Regions from separate parts of the Homo sapiens genome. Here regions 1, 2, 3 and 5 are each linked to region 4. The links are contacts of gene promoters, found by promoter capture Hi-C in blood cells and fetal thymus (Javierre and others, 2016). All regions are on one chromosome and are shown on one strand. The core of a region is centred on a gene start or on the middle of the fragment in contact, and the rest is flanking DNA. Distances in the headings are between cores, read along the strand shown. Region 1 overlaps TGDS (TDP-glucose 4,6-dehydratase). Region 2 overlaps LOC124903191 (a long non-coding RNA gene). Region 3 holds the start of GPR180 (G protein-coupled receptor 180). Region 4 holds the start of MIR17HG (miR-17-92a-1 cluster host gene). Region 5 has its middle 12 kb from the start of TRF-GAA1-5.

Region 1 (3,543 bases), core at 234-2,733, 3.2 Mb before region 4:
TGCCTCCCAGGTTCAAGCAGTTCTCGTGCTTCAGCCTACCAAGTAGCTGGGATTACAGGCGTGTGCCACCACGCCCGGTTTATTTTTTTGTATTTTGAGTAGAGACGGGGTTTTGCCATGTTGGCCATACTAGTCTCAAACTCCTGACCTCAGGTGATCCACCCACCTGGGCCTCCCAAAGTGCTGGGATTACGGGCATTAGCCACCATGTCCTGCCTGGAATTTTAAATTGATCTTATTTTATTTTGTTTTTTTATTTCCACTAGATGACATTATTACTATTTTATATAGTCAGTAGTCATTATATTAGGGGTTTACAAAATGATATCCTAATTATGTCATTCTTCATTTATACCTGGAATATCTACATAAAAAGAAGTTTTCCAGCCAGGCGCAGTGGCTCACGCCTGTAATCCCAACACTTTGGGAGGCTGAGGTAGGTGGATCACCTGAGGTCAGGCGTTCAAGACCAGCCTCGCCAACATGGTGAAACCCCATCTCTAAAATACAAAAAAGTTAGCTGGGCGTGGTAGTGGGCACCTGTAACCCCAGCTACTCGGGAGGCTGAGACACAAGAATGGCTTGAATCTGGGAGGCAGAGGTGGCAGTGAACTGAGATTGCGCCACTACACTCCAGCCTGGGCAACAGAGAGAGAGAGAAAAAAAAAAAGTTTTCCTTATACATTATTTGGTTACCTTGAGATTTAATTGTTATGGAAAAGCCAGGTTAAGTGCCTGATTATTTTTATTTATTTAGTAGATTTTACTATAATGAGTTGGTTTCCAAGCATCCTCATTTTTCTTTTTTCTTAATATTGCTATGAATTTGTAGATTTTAACACATTTGATTTTGTTTGTTTTAATCATTTGCAGTTATTTTTCTTATTTATGTTCAAAATGACTCACCATTAGCCATTGAGAGGCTCTTCTAGTTGCTTCCTGAGTCCTTTTTGACATGACCTTAGCAGTCTTTGACAACCATCTAACTTTCTGGTTTGATAGGATGTTTCAGTTTTATCTTCAATGTTTTTCCCCCTAGATCTGGAATCAGCCCTTTCTGTCAGGAGCCATTGTTCCTTTTGGTGGGAAATGGTGTTTAGAGGCCACAGTCTGGGCACTGGGAGTGCTTATTAACTGATTGGACATTGTGTCAAGGCTTTTTCAGTTAACAAAACTAGGGAATATTATTTGCCTATTTACTTAAGATTAAATATGACATGGGTTTATACTGAAATGTCCAATCCGCATTGAGATTTTTTGTTTAAGTTCTTCAGTCTTTCATTTATATCATCTTTTCCATACCCTGAACACCTTGGTTCTCAACAGCACCATCCTAATTACTCATTTACTTTATTCCAAAACACACAGTGAGTCCACATTTCTTCTTTTAAGGACACCAGGTAGATCGGATTAGGACCCATCCTAAAGACCTGATTTTCACTTAATCACCTCCTTAAGAGCCCTATCTCCAAATATAGTCACATTCTGAGGTTCTGGGGGAAGGGGTTAGGCCTTAAGATGAATTATGGGGAGAACACAGTTTAGCCCATAACTCTGGGTTAGAGGGAAATGCCTATGTAATTTGACTAGATATTTCCAAGTTTCCTTCCTTAGGGAATTGTAAACATTTTACATCATCATTGTCAGTGTACAAAGTGTCTTTTGCCTAACAGCCTCAACAACTAAGTGATTTGTCAACTTTTTGAATTTTTGCCAGTCTGGTAAGTAAGAAGTGGTATCTCTGAGTTTTTAATTTGGGTTTTTCTTACTGTAAGTGACATTGATCATCGTAATCTTAAGGACCCATTTATATTTCTTCATCTAAACTGTTTATGTCTCCTACCTGTTTTACTATAGGATTGTTCTTAATTTATTTAAAGTTCTTTATAAATTGACGATACTAACCCTTTATCTCTGTAATTTCACATGGTTTTTCCCAGTTTGTCATTTTTGTCTTTTTAATTTGTTTTTAGTTTTTTAACCATGCAAAATTTTTATATGGTCAAATTTATCATCCTCTTCCATTATTGCTTCTGGATTGTGATTCATCATTAAGGAAGTTCCTTCCGTTTCCTGGTTATAGAGGTTCAATTCTTGTAAGGTGAATTTATGTTTAAATAACTCATTCAGCATTTATTGCTTTCAGCAGTAACAGATTGATCTTAAAAAGCCTATCCCTGTAATTCATAATTTTTTTTAATTTAAAAACATTTTAAATTTTCATGTATTATTTTTAAATTTTCTTCCTTATAGAATAAAAAACTTTCCTGCAAATTTAACATTAGTTTTCTGGGTTCTGAGAATTTACATGTACTATGTAATTTAGGTTTAAAGAAATCATAAATATGACTGCCTGTGTATGTTATTATTATAACTCTTGCAGCTGTGGTAAATGAAGAACAGTGACTAGTACTCTCCTTAAACCTGAGTCCATCATTTGGCATTTGTTTTATCCGTTGGGTAGACTTGTTTTAGCTTTTCACTCTTTTCTTTTAGATCTTTCATTCGTACGTGCCTTTGAGTTTACCTATGTTAATGTTTATGGCACTCACGTTTTGGTAAGTGCTGCTCATGAAGCCAGAGTGGAGAAGTTTATTTATGTCAGCACAGATGAAGTATATGGTGGCAGTCTTGATAAGGTGAGCTTAGAAAATGTATATTTTACCTACTTAACCATGTACCATGATACAGTTTTATTAAACCTACACTGGGCTTTTTTCATCCTCAAATTATATACACTTGTGGCACTCTTCAGAGTGTATTAGGGTTCTCTAGAGGGACACAACTAATAGAATAGATATATAAAGGGGAATTTATTAAGTATTAACTCACACGATCACAAGGTCTCACAATAGGCCATCTGCCAGCTGAGGAGCAAGGAGAGCCAGTCTGAGTCCCAGAATTGAAGAATTTGGAGTCAGATGTTCGAGGGCAGGAAGCATCCAGCATGGGAGAAAGATGTAGGCTGGGAGGCTAGGCCAGTCTAGTCTATTCATGTTTTTCTGCCTGCTTTATATTCTAGCCACTCTGGCAGCTGATTAGATGGTGCATACTCAGATTGAGGGTGGCTCTGCCTTTCCCAGCCCACTAACTCAAATGTTAATCTCCCTTGACAACACCCTCACAGACACACCTAGGATCAATACTTTGTATCCTTCAATCCCGTCAAGTTGACACTTAGTGTTAACCGTCATAGAATATTATTCTATTGTCTCCTCTGTTCAGATCAAGTGATACCTCCCCAAATGGGGAACAACAGCCTAGTCTTGGTAGAGACTTATTCATTTATTTTTTCATGCCCCAGAATTCTCTTTAGGTACAGATTTATTTGTAATTTTGCAAGAGAATTGCAAATCTCACCTTTTTGTCCCACTCTTACAAATATGGTGAATGTCATTCCATGGACCAAAGCATAAGTTAGGCTGCAGCATACTACCTGTTCATCTTTCCCTTTCAGTCAGGAAAACATATTGGAATTTCAAGGAGACAGTGTAAAATTCTTGTAAAAACCAAAATCTATTTTTTTTTTTTTTGAGATGGGAG
Region 2 (3,364 bases), core at 615-3,114, 3.2 Mb before region 4:
TAATTTACTTAATTGTTTCTGGCCTGGTAAGTATACCCAGAGGCTTGATATTGATGTCTGTGATTCAACAAAAACAAAAAACAATAAGGTCTTTATGGACTTGTGGTTTAATGGCTTTAAATAAATTAACTTCTTTTGGATCAATTCAGCACACTGATGATCTTTGCAAGCTATTAATTTTTTTAAATACTTCTCCCCTAAGTTACAACTTTAATATATAACTTTGGAGGAATCGCTTTGTATCCATCAAGCAACTTCGTTCAAAAAGCATATACATGCCCATAAAAAAGCATCTGCAGGAGAAAACTGGGCCCTAGCCCTAGATTCAAGTTTGGGTTTTTTATTCTCATGCCAATTTTTCATTGAAACAGTCTTTATGAAAAATATTAAGAGTATTTGGTGCAAGGTAAGGAATATGCTCTATGGGTCAGCAGTCAGCGCTGTATCAGTTTGTGTAATTGCTGTGGACTAAAAAATATGTCCCCCCAAAATTAATATGTTGACACCCTAACCCCGATGTGACTGTATTTGGATGTAGCGTTTTTGGGAGGTAATGAAGGCTAAAGAGGTTGTAAGCGTGGGTTTCTAATCTGATAGGACTGATGGCCTTGTGAGATGTGGAAGCCTTCTCTCTCCACACGCATACACACACGGAGGAAAGGTCATGTGGGCACACAGAGAGGGTGGCCTCGGCAAGCCAGGAAGAGAGCCCTCACCAGGAACCCAATCCTCCAAAGCCTTGATCTTGGACTTCCCAGCTTCCAAAATGTGAAAAAATAAATTTCTGTTGTTTAAGTCACCCAGTCTACGGTATTTTGTTATGGCAGCCCGAGAAGACTGATACGGTAATCTCAAGCAAGTTACTTATTAGTGTCTCCGGAGCATTAGCGTAAAATTTGTGGTCAGGCGAAATAAATGCTAAATTCTCTTCCAGCTCTTAGCTATAGTATGATTCTAACTGAAATTGTCTTGGCTCAAGAAGACCGCCAAACATTATTTATTTATTTTTTTTATTTTAAAAACAAATCTGAGGGTATTTTTTTTTTTTTTTGACAGGGTCTCACTGTGTTACACAGGCTGGAGTGCATGGCATGATCACAGCTCACTGTAGCTTCTCCCTCCCAGGCTCAAGCGATTCTCCTGCCTTAGCCATTCAAGTCAAGTAGCTAGGACCACAAGTGTGTACCACCACACCTGTCTAATTTTTTAATTTTTTTTTTTAAGACAGAGTCTCTGTTCCCCAGGCTGGAATGCAGTGGCGTGATCTCAGCTCACTGCAACCTCTGCCTCCTGGGTTCAAGCGATTCTTTTGCCTCAGCCTCATGAGTAGCTGAGATTACAGGTGCCACGCCACCATACCTGCCTAATTTTTGTATTTTTAGTAGAGATGGGGTTTCACCATGTTGGCCAGGTTGGTCTTGAACTCCTGACCTCATGTGACCCACCTGCCTTGGTCTCCCAAAGTTCTGGGATTACAGGCCTGAGCCACCTCCCCCGGCCTAATTTGTTTTTTTTTTTTTTTGTAGAGACAGAGTTTCCCTATTGTTGCCCAGTCTGGCCTCAAACTCCTTGGCTCAAACGATCCTCTGGTCTCGGCCTCCCAAAATGTTAGGATTATAGGTGTGAGTCACCATGCTTGGTCTGAGTTTCAAATTTTTAGAAAAGTTATAAAATGATACAGAAGAATTCCATATACCTTTTACTCAGATACGCCAAATTTTAATATTTGTTTCTATTTTTTAATATTATCTTCATATATACACATGCATGTGTGTATATGTTTACATATATAATAATATGTATGCATACTATTATTTATTTTCAGAATCTATTTGAGAGTGGATTGTCTCTCATCCCTTAATAGTTCAGTATGTACTTCCTGAAACAAGGATATTTCTTACCTAACTATGGTTGCCAACTTCAGGAAATTTAGCACTGATAAAACACACTCATCTAATCTGCAGCTCATGTTCCAATTTCATTAGTTGTCCCAATAGCACCCTTTAAAGCATTTTCTCCTCCAGAATAGGAACCAGTCTGGGATTACACATTGCACTGAGTTGTGTTTCTTTCACCTCCTTGCATATGGAACAGTTCCTCAGCTTTTCTTTGCTTTCGTGACCTTAACAGTTTTGAATAATACAGGCCATTTATTTACTAGGATGACCTTTACTTGGGGTTTGTATAATGCTGCTCCATGATTAAAGTTAGGTTCTGCTTCCCTGCCTGGAGCACTGTGTGTGTTGTGTCTTTTACAGGGCATCACAATAGAAGGCATGTGATGACCGAATGTCCTACATTGGTGATGCTAATTTTGATGACCGGATCATGGCATTGTCCGTTTTCTCCACTGTGCAGTTTAAGCAATCTGTGGAGAAATACTTTGAGGCCATGCAATGATCCTGCTCCTCGTTTAACTGTCCCCCCTTAGACTTAACATCCATTGATGATTCTTGACTGAATCAATCTTTACTATGATGTTTGGAAAATGGTGATATCCCGTGCTACCACTACCTCCAAATTTGTCAGTCTGCACACTTCATTCAGCTATAAGAATCCTCAATTCCTCCCCTGCATCCACCACACAATTATTGTACTAAAGGACTTTTATTTTATTCAAAGGGTAAATAATCCATTAATATTCTTATTTATTTTGATGCTCAGATTGTCCCAGTTTTGGCCAGTAGGAGCCCCTTCAAACTGGTTCCTAGGTCCTTTTGACATACCCCCATCATTTTTAAAATACTTTAAAGAAATATTGATTAAAATCAGAGGCCCCCAAAAATGTGTGTGTGTGTGTGCATGTGTGTGTGTGTGTATGCATGTGCACTGCAGAATCCCAAGGAGCAAACTGAAGGAGAGATTAATTAACAGCCATTTAAATTTTTATCAGAAGTGGGGCACAGTTGTGTGTGTCTGTAATCCCAGCTACCTGGGAAGATCCCTTGAGCCCAGGAGTTCGAGACCAGCCTGGGCAATAAATGGAGCAAGACTCCCATCTCAAAACAAACAAAAAAACCCACAAAAATTTATTAGCTGTTATAACTATATGCAACATACTCTCTTCAGTTTTATTATTCTCAGATCTGCTAGTTAGTTCTCGTAATTAGCTGGTTTTTTTAATCATAGGTAATTAGACTGGAGTTGGCCAAAATCCGCGAGCTCATTTGGAAAACAGGACTGCAGCTTACACAGTTTCTTTCCAACACAGAGTCTTCTTCAACATCTTTATCCTCATTTTGAATGCCAACTTCTTTATCACCTGTCTCTTCTTACTATGATGTGTGTGCACAGATTTTCACTTCACTTTATTTAGCCTGTGGCGCTTGGTCTCCTTGGATGTTCTGACAGTTCTTCTTTGCGC
Region 3 (3,318 bases), core at 7-2,506, 3.3 Mb before region 4:
CTATCTTAAAAACTTCAAAAAAAAAAAAAATCAGGATCCCTTCCCTTTATTCTGTCAATTCTGTAATTTCCCAATACTTTAAATTCCTTTTCTCACCAAAGTAGTTCCGTTTCTATTATCTTCTCCTAACAATATTTTCTAGGCCAATATTCTGATGTTCATCGTTGCATCTTTTAATGCTAAAGACTGTACAAATCAAAGTTCCTAATGTCATCAAGGCAAATAATTATTTGAAATACAGCACTAGTCAAATTAAGAGTACCAAGAAAAACACTTAAATTGTGAGAGTGCAAATGAGACCAAAATTAGAATGAATTGCAAATGCATTTATTGAAGGAATAATTACTGATTTTTGAGGAAGACCAAAAGGTCTGAAATCAAACGCAACTCTGATTTCAGAAGAGCCACACAGAACACAAATTAGGGAGCTTCCAAGATGCTACTTAAATGCATTTTCATCAGCTTAATTCTAGGCCTTACTGCCCATAGTAAATCTACTGCCCTAGTAGCCAAGTAACCAAACTGCTCAATATAACAACTACATTATCAAGTGTTTTACTTGGTTTCCAAAACCACTCTGTTGCAAGTAGGTCTCAGGAAATTGGTCTTTAAAAAAAAAAAAAAAAAAAAGGAAATTTAAGTTTCTAGGGTTAAATTCTCCCGTCACAGTGTGGCCGAGACAGGAAGGAGCAAATATGCTTCTTTGCGGGAAGGATCTGGAAAGATGCGGCCGACCAGTCTTTTGCACATTGGCTTCCAAGGGGAGGGTTGGGGAAATGGAAACCAGCTTTCAGGTGCGGAACACGATCACTAGTGGCGAGAGGCCGCTGCCTGGGGCTGGAAAGCCGCACCAGCGGGGTTGGCAAGGAACGCATCCCACCATTCGCGGCAGCTGCTGCAACGCTGGAGGTCCAGGTGAGGCTGGGGAAGTCGCCGGCCTCGCCCAACGTGGCAGGGAGGGGCCGGGAGGAGCGGCCGGCGGACTCAGCCGGCGGGATGGGCCAGCGCGCCTTCATCCCCCTCCCCGCCCCCAGACCTACCATGGAACTCGAAGTGGCCGATGCGCTGGCCCTGGGCGTCCTGGGCCGCGGTGCTGCTGAAGCTGCCCCGCAGGGTCTTACCCTGGCTGCCCTGCGGCCACCAGCAGCACGTGAGGGCCACAGCCAGCAGCCGCAGCCCCCCCATGCCCGTCTCCAGGTCTGCACCGACGCCTCGGCTCCCAGCCGCCGGCGGCTGCCCGCCCCACGTCGGCAGCTGGGGGAGGCGGGGTGGGCGCCGGAGACCTGCTGCTCTGGAGCCTGAGAGCCAATGAGGCGGGCTCCTCTGCCATAAGCCGAAGACATTCACCAGTCAGAGGCCGAAATGGGCGGGACGCGCAGATCCTAGCGTCCCATCAGTCCCCGGCTTTTGACTAGTTCCCGCCTTTTTCTTTAATGAGGAATCAGGAGGATGTTGCTTCAGGTTACGGAAAACTCATCTCCCTCCTCATTGCCTAGCACGTCTTGCTACTGAGCATGCGCGGGCGCGCTGGCACGAGTCCGCGGGGCCTTCGAAGGGCTTGTGGGATTCGGAAAAAACTTAAGAAATGCAGGACAGGACTGTTTCTGGCCGAGAGAGTTAAACTCCCGCAAAGAAAAAACTGTGTTCTTATGCAGATTTTCTTCCTTGGCGCCTGTATAACCTACAGGACGTGTCCGATTTAATGTCTCAAAGACACTTAGCTCCGCATGACCACAATTTAACGCATGCCTTCTCTTGGCATCTCCAGCCGATTTTTCCCTCCTAGGTTCTCTGGCTTCTCGAATTACATTACCCCCACCCCCACCCCCGCCCGCAGACCAGACCGCTGGGAATTGTAGGCCCCCCCCCCCCCGCAATTCAATCAATTCAATAACAAGTGTGGATTAGCCCTTCTTCTGGTGAGGGTGGGAAGCAGCGGCCACAGTCCTACTCAGTTCATCACTTTGTTGGCCTATGGCAAAGACCGTCTCTACAGTCTTCATTCTAATTGGCTACAATCCATCTCTACCCTACAGCCACAGAAAGCTGTAGGAAACAATTTGCTGCACTTGCCTTGAAAGGTTCTCAATTGCCTTTAGCACACAACCCAAACTCTAGAATATGGCTCTTCAACTCTCAAATGTCTGTTTTTTCTCATCTCCATCCTTACCGCCGTTGGTTTCCTGAACACTCCCAAGTTCTCCCTTCTAGGCCTATATCACTCCCTGATCCCTCTGGCTAGAATACTTCTGCTTATTCCAACACTGGACCTCCTCACCTTCCTTTTCCTCCTTTACTCCTCCTTCCCAAGGCACTTTAAGAAGCCTTTCTCAAACCCCTAAGTCTGTAGTAGATGCCCCTGGAACCAGAATCCCTTACTTCCCTACCAGAGCACTCACGCACTGTACTGTAAGTATCCATTCATGTGTCTGAAATCTCCGCCTCTATTGTCAGCTCCAGCTGGTCAGTGACTACACTTTTTTTTTTTTTGAGACGGAGTTTCACTCTTGTTGCTCAGACTGGAGTGCAATGGCGCGATCTCGGCTCACCTCAACCTCTGCCTCCCGGATTCAAGCGATTATCCCACCTCAGCCTCCCGAGAAGCTGGGACTGCAGGCATGCGCCACCATGCCCGACTAATTTTTTATTTTTAGTAGAGATGGGATTTCTCCATGTTGATCAGACTGGTCCCAAACTCCCGACCTCAGGTGATCTGCCCGCCTTGGCCTCCCAAAGTGCTGGGATTACAGGCGTAAGCCACCTTGCTGGCTATACCTGTCTTAATGAAAGTGAGGCAGGAGAATAGGGCCTGGGGTGAGGGAACCTAAGGCGTTTTTACACCGACTTTCTAGAACTATTAAAGGAAAACCCTAACTTTCCACCCTAAGTAACAAAAGGACCAGAGGCTATGCCCTTTGCAAATCCCCACCTTTTCTGTGAGGCAGATAAGAAATTGGCTGTCCCTACCCAGTCAGACTGATTGCCAGCTGAGTCTTCGTTTGCATAGAAGTGCAACTTTGTAACTCTGTAACATTGCTTTTTGCAACCAATCAGATGTTTGCACAGGAGTGTGACCTTTGTAACTCCACTTCAGCCTCTGATTCATTGCTTTCCCCAAGAATCAGACCTATTGGGGGCCACCACTTCATTTATATGAGGTGAGCTCCAAGTGGCCAATGGGAAACTTCTAGGGAGTATTTGGACCCAAGATGATTATGTGTCCAGGCCCTTCTGCGCTGTGTAGTTGCATTTTCTTTTTTTGAGACAGAGTATCACTCTGTCACTCAGGCTGGAGTGCAGTGGCACAATCTCGGCTCA
Region 4 (3,546 bases), core at 877-3,376:
TTTGTTTTTAAGAAAAGTTCAAGAAAATCAGAATACACTTACCCATTCCAGAAAACTTCCTTTTCAGCAAGTATTCTCAGAAAAGCTACTGGTGCAGTTAGGTCCACGTGTATGACTGGAATAGGGAAAAATAAGGAAAAAAAAGATAAAACATTATTTGCTCAAAATTACTACCACCGTCCAAATCTATATTTGCTATTTTCCAACCTCCTAACAGCAATTAATTCCATCCATTTGTGAGAGTAAGAGTCGAGCAATACTAGCAGGATTTAAAAGCCCAATAATTTACAGTTGAAAAATACGTAAGAGAATAAAGTTGAAAAATCCTTAGCTATCAGATACATGTCTAAATAAGCTCCTAAAATACTTGATTATGATCAGCAGCAATCACCGACTCCACTGTACAGCTCCAGTAAAAGGAAAAAAAAAAAGCAGCCCACAGACTATTCTTCACCACCCCTCCCCCAATCAAGACCTCGTGGCTGCAAGCCGGGATAAAGAGTTGTTTCTCCAACTGCTGTGGTCCTGATGGCATGCCGTTAATTTTCTCTTTTGGTGATATTGCAACGACGAGCCTGCCTTTTTCAGTTCCTTTTCCCTTTGCTGCAGTTTAGGAACAGAAGACCGGGCAGGAACACCCGAGACTGCAAAGTGCCCGCCACGCTCATGGAGCCCGGGCCGGCAGCACATGTCGCACAAGGGGGAGCGCGGCCCTGCGATTCTCCGCGTAGCCGCCAGGGGGCGGCGGGTCAGAGTCAGGCCCCGCCGGACGCGGCAACCCCCCCAACCCGTTTCCCGGCGGCAGCCGCGCGGCGACCGGCGGCGCCGAGGCCCGAGTGCGGCGGGGACGCGGGCGCGCCGCCCCTCCTTTGTGTCCCCCAGCCCCCCCGAGCCCGGCCCAGAGGGGCGGGGGCTCCGCGGCCGCGGTGCCCGTCGCACGCGGCCCGAGGCCTAAGCCGGGAACAATCGGCGGCGGCGCGCAGTCGCCGCCATGTCCCCCGCCCTCACCCCCGTGCAGCCCGCCCCGCAGGAACATGGCGGCGGGGACGCCGCTCCCGCCGAGCCGGGCTGGCCCTCCCGCGCCACACTCCCAGCAAGCGGCCGGGCGCAGGCGGCTCCACGCCGCGGCTGAGGCCGACTGCGGCCTCCTCCGAGGGCCACGGCGGGGAAGTTGCGGGCCCCGCCCCGAGGCTGCCCACGCGGGCTAACAAAGCCCACGCGGAGCGGGGGTGGCGCCCAGGCCGCGCCGATCTCGGCGCCCCTCCGCCCACCCTCGCGCGTACAAAGTTTGGGGAACCGCGGGCTCCCGCCCACGCCACGCCGCCCGCTGGCGCGCAGGTACCTCGTGGGCGCGCCCCCTCCCGGCCCGCGGCCTGCCCCATGTGCCGCCGCCGCCGCCGCTTTGTTCTGGAGGCGCTTTAACTCTCGCCCTCGGGAGAAACTTTCCTACCCAGAGACCCCACGCCCCGCGCGCGCCCCGGGCCCCGGAGAAGGCACGGGCCTCGCACGTCCTCTCCCCGAGGGGCCATTGTGTTCGCCGTCCGCCCACCCGCCTTCGGGTCGGCCCAGGCAGGGTCTGCGCGGGTCCCGGGCGCGGCCGCCACGCGCACGCCGCCCCCTCCCACCCTCCCGCCCCGGCCCTGCCCCCCTCCGCCGGCCCGCGGGCGAGCGAGGGGGCAGCCAGATGCGGCTGCCACACGCCGGGGCGGCCAACGGCCGAGACCCGCCCCGGCCACGCCGCCGCCGCCACGCTGCCCCGGGCCAGTCCGCCCCGGGCCGCTCCGCCCCGCCCGCCAGACCCGGGCCGCACACAACAGGTTTCCCTCCGTCGCCGGAGGGGCGGGCAGACTCACCAGGAGGAGTAGCCGCCACCATCTTCGGCTGGCCGGCCGCGGGCTCCTGCTCCCGCCTCCCCGCCCGCCTGCGCTTTACTACGACCGGAGGCCCCAGGCCGGGGGTGCGGCCGGCCGGCCCGCCCCGCGAGGAGAGCTTCGCGGAGGAGCGCGAGCCCCGGCGGCGCTGCGGTAGTCGTCCCCACCCCCTCGGCCTCGCCCGAGGGCGCGAAGTGGCGCGAAGGCGCAGGTCGGGCGGCGGCGGCGGCACCTCGAAGGACCATGTGGGTGAATGAAGGGCGGCGGCTCCCGCCTCAACGTAAATACGGACAAGCCCCACTCCCTCATTAGCATAAAAAACAAAGTACTTCCGACCTCCCCGCCCGCCCGCCAATCACCGCAGGCCCCGCCCACGGCGGCTCGTTCTTGGCGGCCGGGAGAGCGGGAGCCGGGAGCCGCTGGCGGCGCCGCGCAGCCTTCCCCGGGCCGCGCTCCCCCGTGGCCCGCCCACCGCCGCCAGCCTCGCGGAGCGCCTCGCCCGAACACCTCGCGCCACGCCTCCGGCACGCCCTCCGTTAACAAGCTCTGCGCGCGTGCAGACCCCCGCGCGCCGCACACCCTCCTGGAAGCGCACGCTTCCCGGGGCTTCCTGGGAGCCCTGCTCTCCCTGGGACTCGACGTGTACGCTGTGCGATCACAGTTTATTACTTTACCGGCCCTTGGTGGGTTTCCGAGGTAATTAGGGGCCTGCTCCAGGCCAACCGGAACCAGAGAAGTAAAATCCAGTGACTTTAACATCGAAACAGAATTACTCGCTGCAAAGATCGTTTGAGACCCAGAAATAAATACATTACACCCGACACTCTTGTGAATGCACACTTCGTGGCAATGTGTTTCCTTAACCTGGCCGCGTGTAAACCAAAACGCATGCCCGAGCAGAGGTTTCACAGCTGCAGTACCTGAGCCTCCCCTCTCATGCCCAGCTGCATTTAGTAAGAACTCTGGGTTCTCCAGTAGAAATAGCATAGCTCGGAAAGAACCTCATAAACAACCACAAAGCTGAGAAAAGAAGCCCAATCAGGAGCACCTCCTTCTTCACATTGTGGTTCAGGAAATTCCGGAATTCTCAGAAACATAATTGTTAAAAGTGAGGATTCATAACATTTACGAGAAATACAGCAATTATAAATTGGTTTAAATCTAGTAAGTAGCTACTGCAAAGCACATATCACTGGTTCGTGATTGTACAAGTCAACTGTAAAACACACATTACCAAAGGATGTCTTTAATGCCCCAATGTTAAAATTTTTGACATTCAAACCTTGACAGTATTGTCATTTACTGTCTTTGACTTATTTTATCATGCTTTGCTTAAATCCAATTGTCAAACTAGTGATGACATAAAAAATAGTGGATTAAAGTTTTGCTACTCTTTTTTTTATTGAGTCTAGTTTCTAGATATTCCTTTCTTTGTAAATCAAAATAAAAGGCCAAATCTGAAATTTTACAATATCTAATATTTCTGTAATATAGTCATTTATGAACGTTTCAAAGAGGAAAACACTGCTAATTTTATTACAAGTCTAATTTTACGTTACTTTTGGTCGGCATTGACTAATATGTCAATGCCTTTTTCTTTAAAACTTTATCTTCTGTTTCAAATTAGAATGGTTGAGGCGGGGGGATGTTGTGAGTAAGATTGTTCATCACACTC
Region 5 (3,072 bases), core at 92-2,591, 3.2 Mb before region 4:
TCCCAACTTTCATTCTCTGTGTTGAATGTGTGCTTTCTTCCTCATAGCAAAATTCTACTGCCCCTCAAAAGGTGGGTTTGATTTCAGGAAGAATTTTCATGTTCTAGTAACAAAGCAGGGGACTAAGAATTTTGTGAAAAGTCATAAAAAGTCTATTGGAGTTCTTTGGAAATGCAGGTGTTAATGTGTCGCCTGGTGGTGGTCGGGACTGAAAGATGTTGTGTGACCTGGAATAGCTGGAGGGGTGTGGGCTGATAACCCCTAGAAGCTAGAGTAGTGCTGGGCTCTTAGAACAAAAGGAAAAGGGTAAGGACAACAGGGAGAGCCAAACCGCACAGATAGAAACAGACAAATCCTAAGAGTGAGGGAGGAGAAGCAGCTGAGTAGCTTAGACAGTTTATCTAACATGTTAGGATGGGGAAGCTTCTGAAAATGATCTTCATCCCAGGTAAAGAGAGAAACTGCAACAAGAGAGACTGAATGCAACTTCATTCTTTTTCAATCTGAGGTCTCAGTTGTATTTGTGATGGGCAGTGGACAGCCCATAACCTGAACGAACCTGGCTGAAAAATCCAAGTTCAGGGCTCAACACAACGGTCTATGGTTTATACCCTTGAATTCTTACATTGTAGCAAAGACGGATAATGCACCAAGTCCATCTGCTTTTCTCACTACAATAGATGAAGAAGAGGGGGAGATGTGGTATAAAAGGAGGCAGGGGAGAAGGCTAATACCAAGGTATTGGGGCTATGTGTATACATATGGCTTGGCGGGGAGGGGTGGTGGGAAGCACAGCCTCTGGAGGCAGGCTGCCTGGGCCAGAGCTCCAGGCTCACCCCCTGCCTGTGTAATATCCAGAAGTTCCGTAACTCTTCTTTGTTTCAGTCTCCCTGTCTGTAAAATGGAGAAAAATAAAAATCCTTATTTTATAGGGCTAGTGTGAGAATTAAATAAGATAATCCATGAAGAGTGCTTGGCATGTAGTCAGGCAGGTCCTGCAGGCTCAGTAAGCACTCTCTACAAGCTCCACCCTTCTTTCAGGAGTCACTTTCCGCAACATCTCATCTTGGCTGCCCGAGAAAACTTAGCTGTTTCTTCCATCCTGTACTCCCTATACCTTATCCACACAATAACCTGGATATCATCTTCTGGTTGTGTATTTTATTGGTCTGATTTTCTGACTGGCTGCTATTATCTCCTTAAGGTCAGGATTCACATGACTAGCAGAAAACTCATAGTAGGTGCTCAATGCATTTTTGTTGAATGAGTAAGAGTACTTCTCCTCTTTTTTCATCCTGCCAATGGTGGGTCACCACTGCATCATAATCCTTGGCTGTACTTGTTTTTATTATATTTCCTAACATGAGAATCAACTCTTCTGAGAGCCTACACTGACGTTCTTATTCCTTTTCCACATCTTATGTCACCTAGCCAAGTGCCAGAAACATTTTAGGTTCTCAAGAATTGCTTGTTTACATCTATTGACTTAACAGTAAGCAACTATTTCAGGACTAAAAAGGTTGTATGGTTAATTTAAGGTTATGGATGATTTTCAGTGTTTTCGTTTTTATTTGTTTTTTTTTCTCACTTGCATAATTTGTAGAAAGCAATAAAAAAGGCTCTACATCTTCTTCAACATGGCAGCACAGGAGAGCAGGAAGCTGTAAGTCTTTGTTAGTACTTCAAAAAGATCATGGGATTGTCTTAATCTAACAGAGACAGAGACAAGTTTAGGCAGTTTAGGAACGGCCATCTGCCAGGACACTAACTTGGGTTAATTTAGGTTGTAATCCTATGAACCAGGATCATAGTCACACATTACATGGTTGACATTCAAAAAATGTCTTAGCAACAACAGCATTCTCCCCATCTTTCAAGTTACTAGATGTTCTGACTGCTATTTTTAAATGGAAGGTTTGAAGAACTTTCTAGAGAAATGAGATTTGGGAAACCTTTCAGATGTAACTGAGATTGAGAACTAAAGATTTTGTGTTCAGAGAAATTTAAAGAAACTAACAGTCTGGCACAAATAGATACATGTCCTAATAATGGAAACATTTTACTTGATCCGCCAATTACCAATTCAATTATTCTTACAGGGTTACCAGGTGTGTTAGCTTGTTTTGCATTGCTATAAAGGAACACGTGACACTGGGAAATTTATAAAGAAAATAGATTTATTTGGTTCATGGTTCTGCAGGCTGGGCAAACATGGCACCCACACCTGCTCAGCTTCTGGTGAAGTGTCAGGAAGCTTTTTTGTTTTTGCTTTTGAGGTGGAGTCTCTCTCTGTTGCCCAGGTTGGAGTGCAGTGGCGCAATCTTGGCTCACTGCAACCTCTGCCTCCTGGGTTCAAGCAATTCTCCTGCCTCAGTCTTCAGAGTAGCTGGGATTACAAGCTCCCACCACTACACCTCCGCTAATTTTTGTATTTTTAATAGAGAAGGGGTTTCACCATGTTGGCCAGGCTGGTCTCGAACTCCTGGCCTCAGGTGATCTACCCATCTCGGCCTCCCAAAGTGCTGGGATTACAAGCGTGAGCCACCGTGCCCAGCCAGGAAGCTTTTATTCATGGCAGAGGGTGACACAGAGGCAGATGTGTCACATAGCGGGAGAGGGAGCAAGAGAGAGGAGGTACCAGACCCTTTTTAACAACCAGCTCTCATGTGAAAACTCATAGACTGAATATTAAATCATGACCATGGGGAGGGCACCAACCCATTCATGAGGGATCCACCCCAAGACCCAAACACCTCCCACCAGGCCCCACCTCCAACACTGGGGATCACATTTAAACATGAGATTTGGAGGGAACAAACATCCAGACTACATCACTAGGTTACACTGGGTTGGTCTTTAGCAGGCATGTTTGGGAGGTCCCCTTTGAAGAGCAGCTTCTTGGAGGCATCACAGGCCCTGGCTGCTCCCAGAACATTACTCTGTCCAATGTCAATGTTAAATCATCAGGTCCAGGCCTTTTGGTACATGGCATCCTTGAGGGTCGGATCTATCAACCCTGGTCCTAAACTGTATCGACCATTGGCTCCTGGTTGCAGCCACATTTCTGAACAC

The links. Contacts are between HindIII fragments. The CHiCAGO score rates a contact against its expected background, and 5 or more counts as called.
Region 1: a contact is called between a fragment that was not itself captured here and the fragment with the promoter of MIR17HG in region 4, in 6 of 17 cell types (naive CD8 T cells, total B cells, total CD4 T cells and 3 more). The highest score is 10.5, in naive CD8 T cells.
Region 2: a fragment that was not itself captured here is called in contact with the fragment with the promoter of MIR17HG in region 4 in 9 of 17 cell types (total B cells, total CD8 T cells, naive CD8 T cells and 6 more); the score reaches 19.5 in total B cells.
Region 3: a contact is called between the fragment with the promoter of GPR180 here and the fragment with the promoter of MIR17HG in region 4, in 9 of 17 cell types (non-activated CD4 T cells, naive CD8 T cells, total CD8 T cells and 6 more). The highest score is 30.4, in non-activated CD4 T cells.
Region 5: a fragment that was not itself captured here is called in contact with the fragment with the promoter of MIR17HG in region 4 in 9 of 17 cell types (naive CD8 T cells, total CD4 T cells, non-activated CD4 T cells and 6 more); the score reaches 12.7 in naive CD8 T cells.

The regions. Positions count from the first base shown.
Region 1 is chr13:94,582,190-94,585,732 of GRCh38, reverse strand. TGDS (TDP-glucose 4,6-dehydratase) reads left to right here. Exons shown (of 12, transcript NM_014305.4): 5 at 2,497-2,639. Among named protein-coding and RNA genes, the nearest start is that of TGDS, 12 kb to the left of the region's middle. The HindIII fragment of the contact is 9,535 bases long and covers 1-3,543 here.
Region 2 is chr13:94,552,804-94,556,167 of GRCh38, reverse strand. LOC124903191 (a long non-coding RNA gene) reads right to left here. Exons shown (of 2, transcript XR_007063836.1): 2 at 3,001-3,364. Among named protein-coding and RNA genes, the nearest start is that of TRF-GAA1-5, 4.8 kb to the right of the region's middle. The HindIII fragment of the contact is 3,767 bases long and covers 1-3,364 here.
Region 3 is chr13:94,599,795-94,603,112 of GRCh38, reverse strand. It overlaps GPR180 (G protein-coupled receptor 180), which reads right to left and starts at 1,256. Exons shown (of 9, transcript NM_180989.6): 1 at 1,041-1,256. The coding sequence starts at 1,185. RefSeq lists a silencer at 846-1,445 and an enhancer at 1,224-1,518. The HindIII fragment of the contact is 8,659 bases long and covers 1-3,318 here.
Region 4 is chr13:91,346,267-91,349,812 of GRCh38, reverse strand. MIR17HG (miR-17-92a-1 cluster host gene) reads right to left here and starts at 2,126. Exons shown (of 3, transcript NR_197388.1): 1 at 1,854-2,126; 2 at 43-115. RefSeq lists enhancers at 1-540, 541-1,088, 2,558-2,637 and silencers at 638-1,627, 1,678-2,457. The HindIII fragment of the contact is 6,871 bases long and covers 1-3,546 here.
Region 5 is chr13:94,536,145-94,539,216 of GRCh38, reverse strand. It overlaps a transcript of DCT not described here. Among named protein-coding and RNA genes, the nearest start is that of TRF-GAA1-5, 12 kb to the left of the region's middle. The HindIII fragment of the contact is 1,831 bases long and covers 426-2,256 here.